Linked DNA regions of Homo sapiens: regions 2 and 3 are each linked to region 1. The links are contacts of gene promoters, found by promoter capture Hi-C in blood cells and fetal thymus (Javierre and others, 2016). All regions are on one chromosome and are shown on one strand. Each heading gives the region's core, a stretch centred on a gene start or on the middle of the fragment in contact. The rest is flanking DNA. Distances are from core to core; before and after follow the strand shown. Region 1 holds the start of FANCI (FA complementation group I). Region 2 overlaps TICRR (TOPBP1 interacting checkpoint and replication regulator). Region 3 overlaps TICRR (TOPBP1 interacting checkpoint and replication regulator).

Region 1 (4,953 bases), core at 683-3,182:
GACTCCTGTAAATATTAGTAGCTATAATGTTGTTAAGATAAACAAGTACTATTGACAAGGTCTGAAGAACATTTAGTTCCATTACTGTAAACCTGTTTTTAACTGGATGTATTTTCTAGAATCAGTGTATCACTAGCTTCTCAGTGTATAGTGTCTAGTCAGTGAACCAGACGGATAAGATTTGCTCCTTAGTTAAGGAAGCCTGCACCAGGGTGAAAAACCGTTGTTGTTAATCTGAATGAATCTGTTCTTCTCTTCTTTTGCATATGTAACACTTATTAATGCAAATGGAAAACACAGATGATGCATTCGTGCAACAAGAGGAGACAAGAACCCTGAGGCATCAATGCCAGTGGGTAGACACACAGGCAATTCAGTAAGTACGTCTGGGATGCGCCAGTGGAGGCTCGGAGAGGCTAATGAGCTTGTTCTAGCTACCCAGACCCACAGATTCATGGCTGAATCCCAGAAGCAGCCTGGGAGATTTTGTGGGGAGATGAGGCAAAGTCATCTACTTCCTTGGCAAGGTAAAGGATTCCTTTCAGGAATCATCTTCTACCTCAAGCTGCCGTGTTTTAGTTAAACATCACAGCTCAGTATTGGGACAGAAATGTAGAAGGAAAAAAATGCTGAAGGGTCACAAGCAAGGAGCAGGTCTAGACAGCTGAGAGGAACCATTCTCCTCCAATAGCTCTGTTTCTTCAATAACTGGCCATGTAGACCCGTTCTACCCCCGAGGGCTGGGAGTCGAGTCAGGTTCCAGACTGAAATGCTCCCTGATCTTAGCATTCCTTCACTTGCCATCCCACAGGCACCTCAAATTTGGTGCGTCCAACTCTGAAGGGCTCATCATCACCCCATCATCCTTTTCCTGTGCTCCCTGTGTTAGTCAACTGCAGGATTAACTCCCCGCCCCCCAACCCCAGTCGCTCAAGCCTGAACATTCCTCAACAACGCCCACACCCCCTCAAATCCGGATATTTGGGCTTCCTAAATCTCTACCTCCTAATCTCTTTCACATGCGGTCCACTCCTTTCTGTCCCCATTGCCAAGGTTGGGCCACCACCACCTATCTTTGGGACAACTTACAGTCTTCTAAGGGGGGTCCTGCCTTCGGTCCGCCCCACCTGGCTCATCTCTTTTCAACAGTTTCTGCGGTCCTCACCTGCCCGAGACAGCAGTCTACAATGCGAACACAGTCATGTCCTTCCCCTTCAGCGGTTCCCCACTGCCCCCAATATGAAAAGGAGTTAGAAACCCCTGCCTTCCCACTCCCACCGAGCACCTTCGCCTTCTGAACTGGCCAGGGGCTCTGTTGCTTGCTCGTTGCTCTCAGACCCTTTGCGCAAGGTGCTCCCTCAACCCAAAATAGAATCTCGGCCCACCCTCTGTCGGTCTTCGCCCCACTGTCAGTTGTTCATTTAACAAATATTCGCTGCTTTTGCCAGGCTATGCAATAAACGCTGGGGTTACGCAAGGGGAGCGCAAAACAAAACAAAACAGAGAACAAACAAAAACCACAACTCCCAAAAGTCCATTAAGACCCCTAGCCACAGGGGGCTTACATCTGAGGGGTTACCGTCCCTTGGCACAAGGTGGAGTATGAAATCCGCCTCTGCCTTCCAGGCTTTTCCAGTGCCAAGACCTGCGGGGCCACCAATTGTGAGTCCCCTCCCGCACTGACTACTCCCTCAACAGGACAGGAGGGAAGCTGAACCTGTCGGGACACCGCGCTGGGCACGCTCAGGTCCCACCGCGCGTGCTCATCGGCGGTCCCTAGCGCGAGTTCGGACAGGCAGCGCCCCCCTCCGACTGTGAGCTGGGACGCTCCCGCACGCTTCCCGGCACCCCTTCAGTCTTCATGGTACACCCCGCCCGCAGGTACCCGGACGGCGGAAGTGAGCCGCGGGGGCGGATCTTGTTGTTACGGGTAACGGAAGTGTGGCGGCGTTGGGTTGAGCGGGCTTTTTGGAAGTTTGTGGCGGAGGTGAGGCCGAGGTGACTGCAGAGCGGCTCGCGAGGTGCTCGGGCTGTGGGACTGGGCCCCTGGGAGGGAGCGGTTCTGTGGGGGAAAGGAGGCTCCTGTCCTGACTTGGCGTTCTGGTATTTTCTCTGGCGTGGAAAGTAGGCGCGCTCCGCTGTCTCCCGCCGCCTGCCTCAGCTTTCGCGGTTCCCTCCTAGGGGTGTGCCTCAGTCGGAGCCCCTTCTGTTAAATTCTTCCCCCTTGGCCGAGGGTGAGCTCTTACTTCTGAGAAATTTCCCTTAACCTTGCTTTGCATTTGTTGTCCGGTCGCGGTCTCCATCACCAGCTGCTTCGTGTTATAGTTTTTGTATTTGCGCTCACGGCTTGTTAACTGAAGAACCCGGAAGGGAAGGCCGCGGCGTTTCCCGCCGGCGGGGCTCTGCCATTCTCGGATCTTGGCTTCAGATCTCTGATGCTCCCCAGCGTCTCTTGGCAAGGAATCTACTTCGCGTTCAGGGAATTCACAGCCACCCGCCTCTGGTCTTACCTCTGGTTTTAGGATGATTTTAGCAAATGTGCCTAGGTTGATTTAAACGTATCCCCCTCCGAAGCCGCCTGCCCCTTCTGGCTGGACACCTTTTTAGGTTGGTGTGTCCTGTTTGCATCCGGTAGTTCAAAGCATGGGATCTTGGAGTCCGGAGCTGGACAGACTCGGGTTTCACTTCTCTCTCTGCCACTTGGTAGCCTTCTAATCTTGGGGGAAATTCCCTAATCTCTGAATCCCAAAAGTTGTTCATCTAAAATGGGGCTAATATTACACCTACCTAGTAGGTGGTGTTGTGGGAGTCATGTTAATGAATGTAAAGTGCTGGGTTCAGTGTTTTCCCTATTATAGGGGTTCAATAATTTGTTCAACAAACATTTGTTACCTAGTTTGAGCTAGGTACTGTGCTAAGTGCTGGAGATACAATGATAAACAAAACCAGCTACGGCCCGTGTCCTTAGGGGACTTATAGTCTAGTGGGAGATAACATTTGTTAATCTGATAATTACACATGTAATATTAAAAATTGGTGACAGTATGTAAGAGAGTTTACTGGTGCCATGAGAGGATGTACTAGGGGAACGTTTAACAACCTATACTGAGCTTTTCTTTTCTTTTCTTTTCTTTTTTTTTTGAGACAGAGTCTCCCTCTGTTGCCAGGCTGGAGTGCAGTGGCGCGATCTCGGCTCACTGCAACCTCCGCCTCCTGAGTTCAAGTGATTCTCCTGCCTCAGCCTCACAAGTAGCTGGGACTACAGGTGCGTGCCGTCACGCCCAGCTATTTTTTTTTTTTTTTTTTTTTTTTTTTTTTTTTTTTGTATTTTTAGTAGAGACGGGGTTTCACCATCTTGGCCAGGAAGGTCTGGATGTCTTGACCTAGTGATCCGCCCGCCTTGGCCTCCCAAAGTGCTGAGATTACAGGCGTGAGCTACTGCGCCTGGCCTAGACTGAGCTTTTGAGGAGATGTGGATTGAGCTAAGATCTGAAGGATTTGTAGGAATTAGTAATAAAAGATTGGGGGGCAGTGGATGGAAGCAGGAATATTTATTTAAGTTCCAGATGGAAACATGTGGAAGGGCCTGTGGCAGAAAGAACTTGGAGATTTGAAGGACTGGAAGCAATTCTGCATGGCTGGAGCAGAGTGATGAAAGGGAGGTAGGCATGGGTCAGAACTTGCAGGACTTATTTTATCCTTACTTAAGGGTTTTGGACTGATAAAGCAATGGAAGCCACTGAAGAGCTTTAAGATGAGGATGGCATGGAGGGAAGATAAGTCACATAATCAGGTTTGTGTTTCAAAAACATCACTTTAGTTGCTGCGTAGAAGGGAACAAGTTAGGAAACGATTGCAGTAGTTCAGGTGAGAGATGGTGGTGGCTTGGGGTAATGTGTCAGTAGTGGAGATGGAGAAAAGTAGACAGATTTGGGAGATATTTAGTAGGTAACATTGACAGGACTTGGTAATGGATGTGGTGAAGGATGAAGGCAAAGTTGTTAAGAATGTTACCTAGGTTTCTGGTCTGAGCAGCTGAGTGGATGATGGTACCATTTATGGAGACGGGAAACACAGGAGGAAGAAGAGGAGGAACAGATTTTCTTTCTACTAGGCTGTACTTCCCCCTTCTATTTTCATAGCTACTCACTGAATTCTATCTGCTTCATGTGCCTCCATTTCATCCCATCTTTTCTGTTCTCCAGTCACCACCCTAGTACAGGTCTTTATCATTTCCACTAAAATAACTTCCAAATGGTCTCTTAGCATTTGCTGTTTCTTCTTACCTTCTCCCCACTTTAATCTGCACAAAGATGCTAGGTTCTGTTTCCTCAAACACTTGCAATCTTGTGAGATTGTCTTTTGCTCAAATTTTTTAATGGTTCTCAGTAATTTACGAAATAGAATCTAAATTCCTTAACCTGTTTACTTCCAGCCTATCTTTCCAGACTTCCTACTCACTATTTTCCTACTTGGATTCTACCTCAGCCATTTTACTCATTTTCCCCCAAAGAAATTTCTCATTTCCCGTATGAATGCCTTTGTTCATGATACCCTTCTCCATAATGTATACAACCTGGTTGTCTGGACTACCTATATTTAATCTCTAAGTTCCAGTTCAAGCTTTCCTCTGCTGCGAAACCTTGACATTTAAGAACACAGTTACATCTTTTACCTTGTTAACTTCTCAGCTTTTCTTTCTTTCTTTCTTCCTTTCTTTTTTTTTTTTTTTTTTTTGAGACAGAGCCTCGCTCTGTCGCCCAGGCTGGAGTGCAGTGGCGTGATCTCCGCTCACTGCAAGCTCCTCCTCCCGGGTTCACGCCATTCTCCTGCCTCAGCCTCCCGAGTAGCTGGGACTATAGGCGCCCGCCACCACGCCCAGCTAATTTTTTTTTGTATTTTTGGTAGAGACGGGGGTTTCACCGTGTTAGCCAAAATGGTCTCGATCTCCTG
Region 2 (4,953 bases), core at 1,040-3,539, 370 kb after region 1:
TTCTCCAGGGAACTGCCAGACAGGTTAATGGATGACAGTTATCTGAGAATGGAGTTTTGGAGGAGCTCCAACCCCATTCTGCCCTGTCCAGAGGCTGCTGGGCTGTTGGTTTTCACTGTGATTGTGGGAAATTGATTTTTAAAGCTACCGTAGGGCTAGGGGGAAGGGGCAGGGACTAAGGCAAGTTAAAGCTTCCTGAGATTCAACCATTTTTCTTGAACAAATACTCCCTAGATTGTTGCAAACCTTTAATTAATGTTCAGAGTTCTGGAAAAGATTTTTGACCATTTTTCCCAGTGATCTCTGTTCCTTTATGGAGGAGAGTGTTCAGAGGTCCTTACCTCACCATTCTTACTGGCATCACTCCTCTTTACTAATCATTTTAAGCTCACTTTAAATCAGTCCTCTCATAAGTAGCTTGGCTGCCTACTCTACTAAGAAATTTTATGCCACCTACGTTTATCTTAATAATTAACATTTATGTGGCATATCGGCATTTTCACATATTTCATTTAATCATAAATACTAGAACCACCAACTAGGTGTTAGTCTTAACAAGTGAGCAATTTTCATTTTTTCAGGATTGCTTATTAGATAAAATTTTATATTTATATTGTCTTTTTTTTTTTTGAGATGGAGTCTCCCTCTGTTGCCCAGGCTGGAGTGCAGCGGCATGATTTTGGCACACTGCAACCTCTGCCTCCTGGGTTCAAGTGATTCTCCTGCCTCCGCCTCCCAAGTAGCTGGGCTTACAGGCACGCACCACCTCGCCCAGTTAATTTTTGTATGTTTAGTAGAGATAGGCTTTCACCGTGTTGGCCAGGCTGGTCTTGAACTCCTGACCTCAAGTGATCCGCCCTCATTAGCCTCCCAAAGTTCTGGGATTACAGGCATGAGCCATTGTGCCCAGCCTATATTTACATTGTCTTATGTCATTTTTTAATCTCTAATAGTGCTGACAAACTTCTATCATGTTGAGTCCTGTAACCATAGAACTTAGCCCAAAGACCATTAAGATCCTCTCCAGCTAGGTAATAAGCCATACAGAAGTTCAAACTGCTCCCTTGGCCTTACTGCTGCTTCTTGATGAGGTTAAATGAAATTTATGATTTAAGCTGTGTTTACATTTTAGGTTATCACAAACTGCTGACTAAGAGTGTGGCCGAGACTCCAGTGCATAAGCAGATCTCCAAAAGGCTGCTGCACAGACAAATCAAGGGCAGGTGAGTGACATCCCCATCCGGGCTTCTTCATACACCCACACCACCTCAAAGCGGCCTTGTGGGCCACTACTTCGCTTCTCTTGACCTTCATGACTTAAATCTTAACTATGTTGCTTAAAACCAAAGAGCATTCTATAAGCTCTCCATGGGAGCAGGAGAACCATATAAAATATACACTTGTCTGGCCTCAATTATTTTGAGATTCATCCATGTTGTTGCATGCAATAGTTCATCCTGTTTTATTGCTGAGAAGTATTCCATGGAATAGATACTCCACGGTTTTTAAATCCATTCATCTGTGAACATAGAGAAGGTGGAAGTCTGGGATCCCAACTCAGCCTTTGCTGACAGAGGTGTGGGTGGGGCTGCAGTTTTTTCTGCAGCGATTGGTTGGAGTAGGGCTGTTATTGTCTGAAAGTTTTCTGTCTTGCTTGGCTGACCCTTTCCTAGTTCTTTGGCTTGAGAGCTCTCCTTCCTTGGGGCATCTGTAGTTTGCTCCTGGTATACCTGGGTTGTCAGCTTTTCTGGCACCCAGTCTAGGGGTGTAGGCAGCAAACAGAAAACCCAGGGAGCTAGCTCACTGCCCTCCTCAGGTCCCAAAGTCCCCAGCCAGGCTGCCTTCTTCTCTCTGCCTTTCAGAATTGTCTCCTGCTCATTGTATAGATAATGTCATGGGTTTTTAGCTTGATTTCAAGGGTAATAGAAGCACACCTCCTTCTATTTTGTCAGAAACCCATCTCGACATTATTCGTATATGGATTTTACACACTTGTGAAGTTTATAGGTTAAATTGCGAAAAGTGAAATTGGTGGGTCAGAGGCATATATATTTTTAATTAAATTTTTTATAACATCCTTGACACATTGGCAGAAATTAAGGCTCTTAAACAGAAACTTGAATGTTGCTGCTCATTACTGTGATAGTCTGATAGTTTGGTATAATTTTTTAATATATTAATGGGGTTTATAATTCTGATGTTGTAAAATTGCTTTCCAAAAAATAAAAGCAAAACAAAACCACATTCTAACCATCTCACTCTTTTTCTGAGTAGGAATCTCACTCTGTCACTCAGGCTGGAGTGCAGTGGCACAATCCCAGCTCACTGCAACCTCTGCCTCCCAGGTTCAAGTGATTCTCCTACCTCAGCCTCCAGAGTAGCTGAACTACAGGTGTGTGCCACTGCACCCAGCTATCTTTTTTTTTTTTTTTTTTTTTGAGACAGAGTCTAGCTCTGTCGCCAGGCTGGAGTGCAGTGGCGCGATCCTGGCTCACTGCAACGTCTGCCTCCCGGGTTCAAGCGATTCTCTTGCCTCAGCCTCCCAAGTAGCTGGGACTACAGGCGCATGCCACCACGCCCAGCTAATTTTTGTATTTTTAATAGAGTCGGGGTTTCACCATATTGGCCAGACTGGTCTCGAACTCCTGACCTCAAGTGATCCGCCCGCCTTAGCCTCCTAAGGTGCTGGGATTACAGGCGTGAGACACTGTGGCCAGCCTCCCTCTTGACAATAATCACGTATGAGAGCCCTTTACCAGCACTGGTGTTATCAGACCCTGTGATCTTTGTGATCTTGTTAAGTGAGAAGCTGCCTGTCTCCTTAATAAGTGTTAATTACAAGTGGTATGGAGTAATCCTTGTGCATGTGGTTCCTCGAGGTCCTCTGATCCTGGTCCTGATATTGGTGTTGTTGAAGAGTCCCCTGAAAAAGGAGATGGTGAGTGTTATCTCTTTTTGTTTTTAATGCAATCTACCCAGCTTCTATGAAAACCTTTCTGTATGTATTGTTACTTGGCATATCCTAAGATATTTTACAGAAATTGTGATGGCTCTGAGTCCACAATGCAGCTCAGTAAATATTTATAAGTGAATGTTCTTCTGCATAGAAGGTACTGAGAGAATTCTGGAAAAGAAATATTTTTGCACAACAGATATGAAATTCAGGATGAGGGCTAAACTGTGTTATACAAAGTGCTATGACTTATTTTAAAAGTATATATAACTTTGTTGGAGCTTTTCACTACATATTTTTTCAAGAAGGCAGGGAAATTTTTTATTGGGGAGTGTCTTTTCTGAGACATTATCTTTGCTGCTGCCCCTTATGTATCTGTGTATTCCGTGCCCCCAACACACAGTGCCTGGCACATAGCAGGTGATCAGTAAGCACATGTTGAATGAGGGTGAGCAGCAGGTGTGGTGGTTCACGCCTGTAATCCCAGCACTTTGGGAAGCCAAGTGGGGAGGATCACTGGCCAGGAGTTTGACACCATCTTAGGCAACACAGTGAGGTGCTGTGTCTATAAAAAATTTAAAAAATCAGCTGGTCATGTTGGCATACTCCTATGGTCCCAGCTACTCGGGAGGCTGAGGTGAGAGGATCTCTTGAGCTCTGGAGTTCAAGGCTGCAGTGAGCTATGATCGTGCCTCTGCACTCCAGCCTAGCGACAGAGCAAGACCATGTCTCTAAAAAATAAAATAATAAAAGTATACATGATGAAGGAGGGGTTTTAAAAAACTAACTTCTAAGTTGCTCAAGTAATTCACATTTATTGTGGAAAAAACAGGAAACATGAAGCCAAAAATTTTAAAGCACTTGGTAATTCCACAACTCAGAAATACTCTAACATTTTAGCATATACTCTTACTGCTATTATTTCTATATAAATGCATGTAACATATACATACGAAACCTAACATAAATACTTGTTTTCGCCCTACACCATTCTTCTTTTTTTTTTTTTTTTTTTGGTGAGACAGACTCTTGCTCTGTCGCCCAGGCTGGAGTGCACTGGCATGCTCTCCGCTCACTGCAACCTCCACCTCCCAGGTTCAAGCGATTCTCCTGCCACAGCCTCCCAAGTAGCTGGGGTTATAGGCACCCACCACCATACCTGGCTAATTTTTGTATTTTTAGTAGAGACAGGGTTTCACCTTGTTGGTCAGGCTGGCTACACCATTCTTAAGGTGGCAGTAAATAAGACTTCTGAAGGTAATAGTCTAGTGGGTCAGTGTTTTTTTAATACCTTGTTGGGACCATGTATCAAACCCCTCTTAGTTTGTTAAGAGACACTTCAGAAGTCTCTTAAAGCTAATAGCTTGCTGAATTTCCATCTTATATGTGGTACTATGTAAATTTTGCCCGGTTTTGGACAACATGAGAAAATGTCAAGCTTGTAGTTGTCTTTGGTTACTTACTGTGGTTCTGATTTTACAGAAATAAGTCTGAGACGAAGTCCTCGAATCAAGCAGTTGTCATTTAGCAGGACACATTCTGCCTCCTTCTATTCTGTGTCTCAGCCGAAGTCTCGAAGTGTGCAAAGAGTCCACTCTTTCCAGCAAGATAAGTCAGGTAACATACGGGCCCCTCTGCCTTCACAAGTCCGTGCTGACTTGGTGAGAAGTGTTTTTGGGAAAAGAAGCAAGAAATTTGACATTTTCTTTCTTGACATTGGAGAAGTAGAATAGGTATGTCTAGTTGAGGTTCAGGGTGATGGCTAGATGGACAGTCCATGACTTTGTAATCAGTCATCCCTAGGACTCCTACAACTGGTCATCCATGCTATCATTATAGGTAGCTCATTCATTCAAGAGGAAGCTACCCATAATTTCCCATAAGGACAGAACCTACACATCATTATCTTAGGTGGAAGGTGATATCTGTGTTTACGTTCTTCATTCTTCTATCCATGGTTAGCTTGCTAATAGATTTGTGTTTCTTATTTTATCTTTTTT
Region 3 (4,953 bases), core at 1,816-4,315, 350 kb after region 1:
TCAAATCATTCTGGAGGGATATGCTTCATTTTGATATTCTTTCACAGTAATCTGAATTAAAGTAGTTCTTCTTTCCACAGAAGTGGAAGGCAATTTACTTTCCCTCCTCTGATGTTGTTTTGGTAGGAGGGGTCCCTCGTACTCCAGTGAGACAGAAGATGAATACCATGTGCCGTTCCTTAAAGATGTTGAATGTCGCAAGGCTGAATGTGAAGGCCCAGAAGTTACATCCAGATGGCAGTCCGGATGTGGCTGGGGAGAAAGGAATCCAAAAGATACCTAGTGGGAGAACAGTGGATAAATTGGAAGACAGAGGAAGAACACTAAGAAGTTCTAAACCTAAAGGTATTCCTCTTAGTCTATAATTTACTCTTTTATACCCCGCTTTTTTAAAAATAAAATTTAATCGTACCCTTAGTTTATTGACTATCTGCTACATGCACAAAAAGGTGTTATGGTGAATACAGTAAATAATAAGATAATGTGCTATTCTTAGATTTATGATCTAGCTACAAAGATAAGGGAGGCGGAGGTTGTGGTGAGCCGAGATTGCACCACTGCACTCCAGCCTGGGAGACAGAGCGAGACTCTGTCTCAAAAGAAAAAGAAAAAAAGAAAGAAAATTCTGAGGTGTAAATTTTATGCTGCTTTACAGATTTTTTTTTTTCCTGTGGAATGTGAGAGCCATAGATGATAATCAGTTTGAATGGGACAGAACACCTTTAGTGGGCTAGTAAAGGTGTGTGAAATGTGCTTGATACATGCAAGGGAAGGCTGAAACAACAGTACTGAAGACAGTGTGGCAGGAACATAATTTCTGGACTAGATTCTGTCTAGCAGTAGACCTGCACAATAGTGGGCAAATGATTTTTGACAAAGATGCCCCAATAATTCCGTGAGAAAGACATAATCTTTTCAATAAATGATGCTGGAACAACTAGATACCTTTATGGAAACAAAATTAGACCTTACTTTTAATAGTATTTTGTATTCCTGCTATTTTTAATATTTATGCCTTCCATCTCTCTCTCTTTAATTGCTCAATCTTGCTATAGAGTTTTCTGTTTTATTCCTCTTTTCTTTTTTTGTTGTTTTTTGAGACTGAGTTTTGCTCTTTTTGCCCAGGCTGGAGTGCACTGGCATGATCTTGGCTCACTGCAACCTCTGCCTCCCGGGTTCAAGCGATTCTCCTGTCTCAGCCTCCCGAGTAGCTGGGATTACAGGCGCATGCCACCACACCCGGCTAATTTTTGTATTTTTAGTAGAGACAGGGTTTTATCATATTGGTCAGGCTGGTTTCGAACTCCTAACCTCAGGTGATCAGCCTGCTTCGGCCTCCTAAAGTGCTGGGATTACAAGTGTGAGCCACCGCGCCTGGCCTTATTTGGCTTTTCAAAGAACCGTCTTTTGTTTCTGTTGATTGCTGTTGTTGCTTTGTTTTCAATTCATTTCTGTTCTTTATGATTACCTTCCTACCTTTATTTTTGGGGTTTACTCTCTCATATTACTTCACGTGTTGGACCCTTAGATAGTTAATAGTTTTTAATTTGTCTGCTTTACAAAAATAATCACTTGTCTAAAGTCTGTACATTTTCTCTTTAAGTATAACTAACTGCATTATGTATTTACTGTTTTCTATTTTCATTGATACTTATTTATAAATATTTTCTGACATCCATAATATAAGGGAGTGTTTTATAATTAGCTTTTAATATTTTTGAACTGTGCTCAATGTGGTCTGTAAGATTGATTCTTTAATATTTGCTGAAACTGACCTAATGTGCACTTGAAAATAATGGGTATTCTCTAATTGTTGAATATCTGGTTTTATACGTGTCTGTACATCAAGTTTATTAATGTTTGAATATTCAACATTTTTAGTAATTTTTTTCTGCTGCTTTTATCTATTGCTAAGATGATTGTATTAGTCTTCCACTATTGTATTGTCTTTGCTCCTTTGTCAAAGATCAGTGGAGGCCAGGTGCAGTGACTCATGCCTGTAATCCTAGCACTTTGGGAGGCTGAGGCGGGCAGATCACCCGAGGTCAGTAGTTCGAGATCAGCCTGGCCAGCATGGTGAAACCCTGTCTCTACTAAAAATACAAAAATTAGCCAGGCGTGGTGGCAGGCGCCTGTAGTCCCAGCTACTTGGGGTTACTGAGTCATGAGAATCGCTTGATCCCGGGAGACAGAGGTTGCAGTGAGCCGAGATTGCGCCCCTGCACTCCAGCCTGGGTGACGGAGCAAGACTCTGTCTCAAAAAAAAAAAAAAAAATCCGTTTACTATATTTATGTAGGTCTATTTCCAGGCTCTCCTGTTACATTGATCTCTCTATTCTTTTGCTAATATCACACAAACTGTCTTGATTACTGTAGCTTTATAGTAAGTCCTGAAGGTTGGTACTATCAGTCCTCAAACTTTGTTTTTCTCATTCAATATTGAGTTAGTTATTCTGGGTCTTTCGCCTCTTCATATAAACTTTAGAATCAGTTTGTCAATATGCAGAAAATAACTTATTTGATAGGGATCACATAGAATCTATAGATCAAATTGGGAATCTGAAATCTTGACAGTATTGAGTCTTTCTTGCTGTGAACATGGAATATCTCTCCACTTATTTAGTTCTTTGATTTTGTTCACAGAATTTTGTAGTTTTCCGCATATAGATCTTATACAAATTTTGTTAGATTTAATACCTGGGTATTTCATATTTAGGGGGGGTGCTAATTTAAATGGTAATGTGTTTTTAATTTTAAATTTTGCTTGTACATTACTGGCATATGGGAAAGCAATGGACTTTTATGTATTAATCTTGTATCCTGCAAATTTGCTATAATCACTTGTTAGTTCCAGGAGTTTTTTGTTTGTTTGTTTGTTTGTTTTTTTTAGTAGAGATGGGGTTTCACCGTGTTAGCCAGGATGGTCTCGATCTCCTGACCTCGTGATCTGCCCACCTCAGCCTCCCAAAGTGCTGGGATTACAGGCGTGAGCCACCACACCCGGCCCAGTTCCAGGAGTTTTGTTGTTTGTTCTTTCAGATTTTCTAATCATGTCATATCACCAAAGACAGTTTTATTTCTTCCTACCTTTAAATTGTTTGTTTGTTTGTTTTGAGACGGAGTTTCACTCTTATTGCCCAGACTGGAGTGCAATGGTGCGGTCTTGGCTCACTGCAACCTCCGCCTCCCAGGTTCAAGTGATTCTCCTGTCTCAGCCTCCTGAGTAGCTGGGATTAGAGGCGCCCGCCACTACGCCCGGGTAATTTTTGGTATTTTTAGTAGAGAAGAGGTTTCACCATGTTGGCCAGGCTGGTCTTGAACTCCTGACCTCAGGTGATCCACCCACCTCGGCCTCCCAAACTGTTAGGATTACAGACGTGAGCCACCACGCCTGGCCTCCTACCTTTAAATTTTTAACACTTAAACTTGGTATACAGAGCCTTAAAATTAATCACTTGGCTGGGCATGGTGGCTCATGCCAGTAATCCTAGCACTTTGGGAGGCCAGGGCGGATAGATGGCTTGAGTTCAGGAGTTCAAGACCAGCCTGGGCAACATGGTGAAACCCTGTCTTTACCAAAAATACAGAAAATAAGCTAGGTGTGGTGGCACATGCTTGTGGTCCCAGCTACTCCAGAGGCTGAGGTGGGAAGATCACTTGAGCCTGCCTGGGAGGTGGAGGTTGTGGTGAGCCGAGATTGTGCCACTGCACTCCAGCCTGATTGTCAGAGTAAGACCTTGTCTCAAATAAAATGAAATAAAATTAATCACTTATCTCTGTAGTTTCTCAGTCTCTGGACTATTGACATTTTAGACCAGATAATTCTTCGTTGTAGGGCTGTCCTATGTATTGTAGGATGTTTAACAGCATCCCTGGCTCCTACATACTAGATGGCCAGCAGCCACCCCCGCCCCCACCACCATCAGTCATGACAATCCAGACAAGGCCAAATGTTCCCTGCAAGGAAATATTTTCCCCAGTGGACAACAACTGGCCTAAGTAATACAAGGACTTGAGCAAGATATGATTAATCCATTTTATTTTATTTTTTTCTCAGATTTTAAAACTGAGGAAGAGCTGCTATCATATATACGTGAAAATTACCAAAAGACTGTGGCCACAGGAGAAATCATGTTGTATGCATGTGCTCGAAACATGATCTCAACCGTTAAAATGTTCCTAAAATCAAAAGGCACCAAGGAATTAGAAGTAAGAGGGTCCAGATATTGTTGTTTGTCATGGATGTAGTGGTTGGTTGGTTGGTTGGTGGTGGATTTGGTTAGTGTCTTGGAAAATGTCTGTTATGTCATATGTGATTCAAAAATGGTAAGATAAGTAAGGGAGTAAGTACAGTTCCAGATCTCAGAAGGTGGATATGGTGAACTGGTAAGGCAGAAATCAAAGAGATGGGGTGAGCGGGGATAATTACATATAATTCTCTCCTAATGAAAAGCCTTTCCTCATGTGAGCTATATGTTAGCTGCATGATTAAGCCAGTGGTTTTTAACCCTGGCTATACTTTAGAATCACTTACAGCATTTAAAAAATATATATATGCCAACTAACCGTGGTGGCTCACGCCTGTAATACCAGCACTTTGGGAGGCCAGGGTGGGTGGATCACGAGGTCAGGAGTTTGAGACCAGCCTGGCCAACATGGTGAAACCCCGTCTCTACTAAAAATACAAAAATCAGCTGGATGTGGTGGTAGGTGCCTGTAATCCCAGCTACTCGGGAGGCTGAGGCAGGAGAATCGTTTTAACCTGGGAGGTGGAGGTTGCAGTGAGGCAAGATCGTACCATTGCACTTCAGCCTGGGCAACGGAGCGAGACTCCATCTCCAAAGAATATATATATATGCCTTGCTCTCTCCAGATGAACTGAAACAGATCTCTGGGGTTGGCGCTTTTAAAAAGCCCCCTGGATAATCCTTTTGCACTGGGAGTGTTGCAAAC

The links. The method cuts DNA at HindIII sites, captures the fragments that hold promoters and counts their contacts. A CHiCAGO score of 5 or more calls a contact.
Region 2: a fragment that was not itself captured here is called in contact with the fragment with the promoter of FANCI in region 1 in 1 of 17 cell types (erythroblasts); the score reaches 6.4 in erythroblasts.
Region 3: a contact is called between a fragment that was not itself captured here and the fragment with the promoter of FANCI in region 1, in 1 of 17 cell types (erythroblasts). The highest score is 6.7, in erythroblasts.

The regions. Positions count from the first base shown.
Region 1 is chr15:89,242,047-89,246,999 of GRCh38, forward strand. It overlaps FANCI (FA complementation group I), which reads left to right and starts at 1,933. Exons shown (of 38, transcript NM_001113378.2): 1 at 1,933-1,987. RefSeq lists an enhancer at 2,136-2,515. The HindIII fragment of the contact is 10,185 bases long and covers 1-4,621 here.
Region 2 is chr15:89,615,273-89,620,225 of GRCh38, forward strand. TICRR (TOPBP1 interacting checkpoint and replication regulator) reads left to right here. Exons shown (of 22, transcript NM_152259.4): 16 at 1,133-1,223; 17 at 2,880-2,938; 18 at 4,436-4,570. It also overlaps a transcript of KIF7 not described here. Among named protein-coding and RNA genes, the nearest start is that of KIF7, 38 kb to the right of the region's middle. The HindIII fragment of the contact is 4,200 bases long and covers 190-4,389 here.
Region 3 is chr15:89,595,267-89,600,219 of GRCh38, forward strand. It overlaps TICRR (TOPBP1 interacting checkpoint and replication regulator), which reads left to right. Exons shown (of 22, transcript NM_152259.4): 7 at 127-345; 8 at 4,058-4,209. Among named protein-coding and RNA genes, the nearest start is that of TICRR, 22 kb to the left of the region's middle. The HindIII fragment of the contact is 8,455 bases long and covers 1-4,953 here.